Regions from separate parts of the Homo sapiens genome. Here region 1 is linked to region 2. Evidence: promoter capture Hi-C in human tissues and cell types (Jung and others, 2019). All regions are on one chromosome and are shown on one strand. The core of a region is centred on a gene start or on the middle of the fragment in contact, and the rest is flanking DNA. Distances in the headings are between cores, read along the strand shown.

The links. Contacts are between HindIII fragments. The study calls those that stand out against the background at their distance.
Region 1: a fragment that was not itself captured here is called in contact with the fragment with the promoter of UTS2R in region 2 in 2 of the 25 tissues and cell types used here (pancreas and spleen).

Annotation. Positions count from the first base shown.
Region 1 is chr17:82,473,721-82,476,420 of GRCh38, forward strand. All of the region lies in intron 5 of NARF (nuclear prelamin A recognition factor), which reads left to right. Among named protein-coding and RNA genes, the nearest start is that of NARF, 16 kb to the left of the region's middle. The HindIII fragment of the contact is 9,427 bases long and covers 1-2,700 here.
Region 2 is chr17:82,370,430-82,373,129 of GRCh38, forward strand. It overlaps UTS2R (urotensin 2 receptor), which reads left to right and starts at 1,336. Exons shown (of 3, transcript NM_018949.3): 1 at 1,336-1,618; 2 at 2,169-2,354. The HindIII fragment of the contact is 34,629 bases long and covers 1-2,700 here.

The sequences.
Region 1 (2,700 bases), core at 143-2,642, 100 kb after region 2:
CTAATTTTTGTATTTTTAGTAGAGATGGGGTTTCGCCATGTTGCCCAGGCTGGTCTTGAAATCCTGACCTCAAGTGATCTGCCCGCCTTGGCCTCCCAAAGTGCTGGGATTACAGACATGAGCCACCACACCCGTCCTCTAATTTTTTAAATAAATATTTTTTAAAAGGAAAAGAAAAATAGGCCAGGCATGGTGGCTCACAGCCATAATCCCAACAATTTAGAAGGCTGATGTGGGAGGATTGCTTTAGCCCAGGAGTGTGGGACCAGTCTCGTCAACATAGTGAGACCTCGTCTCTGCAAAAAAAAACAAAAAAAAGCCAGGGGTGGTGGCAAGTACCTGTAATCACAGCTACTACGAATCCTAGCCTGAGGTGTTTGAGCCAAGGAGTTAGAGGCTGCAGTGAGCTATGACTCCTCCATTGTACTCCAGCCTGGGCGAAAGACTGAGGTCCTGTCTCTTAAGAAAATCCGTTTTCTCTTGAAAGTACAACATATCTCAGATGTACAAATAATTATGGAATAATATGGCAAACGTGCATGTATCTTTTGCCAGCTTAAAAAAAATACAGAATAAGAAAATTTCTTTACATTGATATTCAGATACTCTCAGGGCGCACTGTTTAAACCACTCTTTAATTGGTTTTTGGATGCCTGAGTTATAGAAGAGATTTGTCACATGCTTTTCAATTCTGGAAAAATAGAGAGTTTGGGTTAAGAAATCTTCGATGATGCATAAGGGAATAAGGAAGGAATGGCTATCCTGGCAAACAACACTAGTTAAAAATTATTCTACTACATGAGGCCTGTGGGAGCATAGGAGAGCTCTATCTAAGCTAGTCGTAGGCTGTATAATTTTTAGGGTTTGGTTCACGTTTCAGTTCTTAATTTATGCTCCCCCTACAATGGTTTCAAATTTTTCTGGCATTTTACATGTCAACCTTTAGTCATTAGGATTATGAATTAATAAGATGGAACATTGACATCGTGGTTGCTTAGAATACGGACTTACTCTCTAGCCATTTATAAAATATAAAGAGGAAATTTACCATCTGTTCCATGGGCTGCATTGGTTGGCTCGTTATTTGAGCTGTATCGTTCACCAGCAACCCACAGCCTGCTGTGATCTCAGCTCCAGATGGGGACAGGGATGTTAGTGACTTCTTTCAGCTGTATGGTTTGCCTTACTGTAAGTGATTCACAGATTTTTGTATCAGAGGTCGAAGTATAAGCCATTTGACGCCAGATACAGCCTTTTACTAGATTGTGGGTGTTACATTCAGCTCTTGTGGCATTTTGGGTGTGTTTCCAGGTGTAAAGGGATAATTTCCACACCTGATGGTTTCTGGGGCTGCCTGGACTCCAGCAACCTGGGAGTACCTGGTGTTTGTGTGCTGAGCCTGAGCCTGCCTCTGTGGTCCCCTTGCAGGAGTGCTTTCCTTTTGGGACCCTGTTACATGATACCACACACAACATGGCTTCACAACACCAGTCACACTTGCTTAGTTCCACCCCCAACCAAGGAAGAGGCCGTGTAAAATGACAACGAACTAAGGCCCATGCCCCTGGAGCAGTGGTTTTTAAATTATAAAAAATTTAGGCCGGGCGCAGTGGCTCACGCCTGTAATCCCAGCACTTTGGGAGGCCGAGGTGGGCGGATCACAAGGTCAGGAGATTGAGACCATCCTGGCTAACACGGTGAAACCCCGTCTCTACTAAAAATACAAAAAATTAGCCAGGTGTGGCGGGCACCTGTAGTCCCTGCTACTCGGGAGGCTGAGGTGGGAGCTTCACTGGAACCCAGGAGGTCGAGGCTGCAGTGAGCCGTGATTGCACCACCGCACTCCAGCCTGGGTAACAGAGCAACCCTGTCAATCATACATATATACTACATACATACAGCAAATCTCAAGCTAAAATAGGAAGCAAGGGGCTGGCCTGCAGCCAGTGGCTGGAGAAGAGAAAGGATTTGGTGACACATTTCTCAGAAATGCCGTCACTGAGAAGAGACCTCTCAGGGCCCCTACCTAGCATTGTGTTCACTGCCACAGGCGGAGGGATCACCGTTTCTATACAAATCAGCAATCTGCTCAGGATTCACATCAGCAGAGTTAGTTCCTTCAGTGACTTGAGAAGGTTCCATCCCAGTAGGACCTCTCATAAGGAAATCAACAAATGTAAGGAGACTGCAAAAAGTTTGTGGAAGAACAGAATTAAAAGATAAAAAGTATAAACTTTATTTCTCAACATAAGCTCCATCCTGGTCAAGACTTTTTTTTATTTTTTATTTTATTTATTTATTTATTGAGACAGAGTCTCGCTCTGTCACCCAGGCTGGAGTGCATTGGTGTGATCTTGGCCCACTGCAACCTCCATCCCCCAGGTTCAAGTGATTCTCCCAACTCAGCCTCCTGAGAAGTTGGGATTGCAGGTGCATGCCACCATGCCCAGCTAATTTTTGTATCTGTAGTAGAGACAGGGTTTTACCATTTTGGTCAGGCTGGTCTCAAACTCCTGACCTCAGGTGATCGCCCGCCTCAGTCTCCCAAAGTGCTGGGATTACAGGCACTTGCCACCATGCCCGGCTAATTTTTGTATTTTTAGTAGAGACGGGGTTGCACCATGTTGGCCAGGCCAGTCTCAAACTCCTGACCTCAGGTGATCCGCCTGCCTCGGCCTCCCAAAGTGCTGGGATTACAGC
Region 2 (2,700 bases), core at 86-2,585:
CTGAGGTGACAGCAGATCGTTTCGGCAGCTGGCTTGCGGGAAATTTAATTCTTGGAGCAGGCATTCTGGGTCCTGAGTGCTTTTCCCCAGCCCTAGCCCCTAGACTCCAGCTTAGTAATCAGCTCTCACAGAACCATCACGTCGGAGGCAGCCTTCCACCCCCTTTCCTCCCGCGCACAGGCAGGATGAGCTGCTCCCCTTTCGGGTCGGAAGCTGCAGCTGTATTTGGTTTCAGTTCGGCTGTTTTCAGCTCACAGAGAATGAACTGTCTTATTGTGTGACCCTTGCTCCGTCCAGCGGACGCTCGGAGACCAGAGGGACTTTTCCCGCCCTCTCCAGCCCAGCCTCGCCTCCCCAGCACGTGGCAAACGTCCCACGGAGGGGACTGGTGGGCATCTGGGGCTCCCCCGGATCCAGCTGATTGCAGGAGCCTCTCGGCCATTCACACTTGGCCACCTCCTCTCCCCCAGCAGAACCCCTTCAGCTTTAGGGGCCGGTCCGCGGCCTCAGGCAGCAGATGAGCCCCGGGCGGAGTGGAGTGGGCGAGGCCAGCTCCTCGCTGGGGGCCCTTTAGACCCCGTGTTCACAGCTCTCCAGCTCTCCTCTAGTCTAATTTATTAATGTTCTGTGTCTTTTTCTTTCAGGGGTTCAGCATGAGTGAAGGCCCACATCCTACCTCCGAGCAGCAAGTGAAACCGAGTGGGGGCCAGCACCCAGCTCAGGGGCTCGAGGGTGAGGCTGTGGGGTCCTTCCTCCTACCCCGCGGGGCCCTGCAGCTCCCAGCGTCACTTCCGTGGATGTGGCCACCACGAGTCCCTGCCGAGGCCTGGAGAGGCTGCGTGGGCTTCTAAGAGCATCTGTGGGAGACCCGCAACAGGGGCGGGGTCAAGGCCCCCAAAGAGCCCGTCCCCGCCTGGGCGGGTGACTCCCTCCCTCCCTTACCTCCTTTCTATGACCCTCTCGGGGTTTAGGGGTGTTCCTGCCCCCCACCTGCGCGCGGGCGGGTCCAGGGCTTGGTGGACACGGAGAATCCCAGGCTCCGTGCCCTGCAAACACGGGCGTGAGGGGCGCAGGGGTGAACGCTGGAGGCGGAGAACCCAAGAGGGGCTGCGGGGTCAGCCTTGGGGCAGCCGGGCTGGAGGCAGCTTCGCTCCGCAGACGCAGACGCGAGACCCGCCTGGGACCCTCCGCCGACCCCGCTGCGGCCCCGCGACCCCCGCGTCTTCCCGGCGCCGCGCGGTCAGCGCCGCCCCCTAGACACCCGGCGCCGTCCCCTCCGCGCGCCTGCTGCCCGCTGGGGTTATTTTAATACCGGGCCCTGGCGCGGGGCGCGGCGCATTCCCAGCTGGCGGCGGGCAGGTGGCGGCGGCGCAGAGACCCGGCGCGGGGCGGGGGGCGCGGCTTTGGTGGCGGGACTGGCGGGCGCCCCTGCCGTGTGCTCTGGAAGCCGAGGCCACCGCGGAGCCCCTCGCGCCCCCTCTGCGCTGGGACAGGGGAGCGCGCCTCGGAAAGTTCCCCGCGGCCCCGCTGCGCGAGGAGTTTGGAGCCGCGAGCGGCTGCCCCCACGCGCGACCCCAGGCTCGGCGGGCAGGTCTGGCCGCTCAGTGACCGGAGGCAGGTGGGTCCTCGGTGGGTGACCGGGAGCGCGCGGGGACTGCCGGGTCTGTGCCCTTCGGGGCCCTCCGCAGGGCTGGGCCGGGGTTTCGCGGTGGGAACCCACCCTGGGCGAGGGGAGCGGGGTCCAGCGAGGCGGCTTCTCCCGTGCCGTGGAACTTTCGGCCCCTCCCCTTCCCCCCTAGCGACCCTGGAGCAATCCTAGCGGCCCGGCGGCCGCTGTCCCCCTGCCCGTGACTCGGGCTCGCGCACAACTGGGGAGCCCGGTGCACCCTCGGCTTCTGCGCCGTCCCCTGGGTGAGGGCTCTGGAAATGCCCTGGGTGGGGGCAGCAAGGGGGTGAGGGTCCCCTGGACAGATGGAGCTGGGAGCTGCTCGGCCTGGTGGGAAAGGGCGGACAGGGCACATTTCCAGGCCCTGGAAGGCCCCCAGCGCCCCCACCTGTTGACAACTCCCCACCCCAGCCAAGACTGCTCCCTGCGCAGCCATGAGTGTTCGGCCTAAATTCAGCGTGGCTCGTGGAATCAGGCAGCCTCCTGTGTCTTGTTTCTTCAGCCCACCACCGCGCTGTTTCATCCAGGCTGCTGACCCCAGCGGCGACTCCTTCACTGGCTTCATGTCACAGTTTGCCTGCCCCGTCCACTGGGGACATTTGAGCTGTTTCCAGCTTCTTAGGAGTCAAGCTGCCGTGAACTTTCGCACGCTTGTCATTTTCTGAACGTTGGCAGCCCTTTATCTAAGGTACTAACCTGAGAGTAGAATTGCCGGGTGAGAAGGTATAGGCGGTCAACTCTGCAAATCGTGCCAATGGCTTTCCAAAGCGGCGGCACAGTCCAGGTTCCCAGCAACAGGAAACGGCAGGGCCAGCTCCTCCACAGCCCCCACGCCTGTTGACAAGGATATCTGCCTTTTCACGCGTTCATCCTTGTCAGCACGCAGGGGCTCCTGTGGCCCTGACTGGCATTTCCCTGCTTGTTGGCTGCGTGGGTGTCCTTTTCAGGAAGTCCCCGGTCACGGTTTTGGTCTCTTTTTTTCAAATGGGTTGTTTGTCTTTTCCTTACTAATTTGCAGTTCTTCCCTATATTTT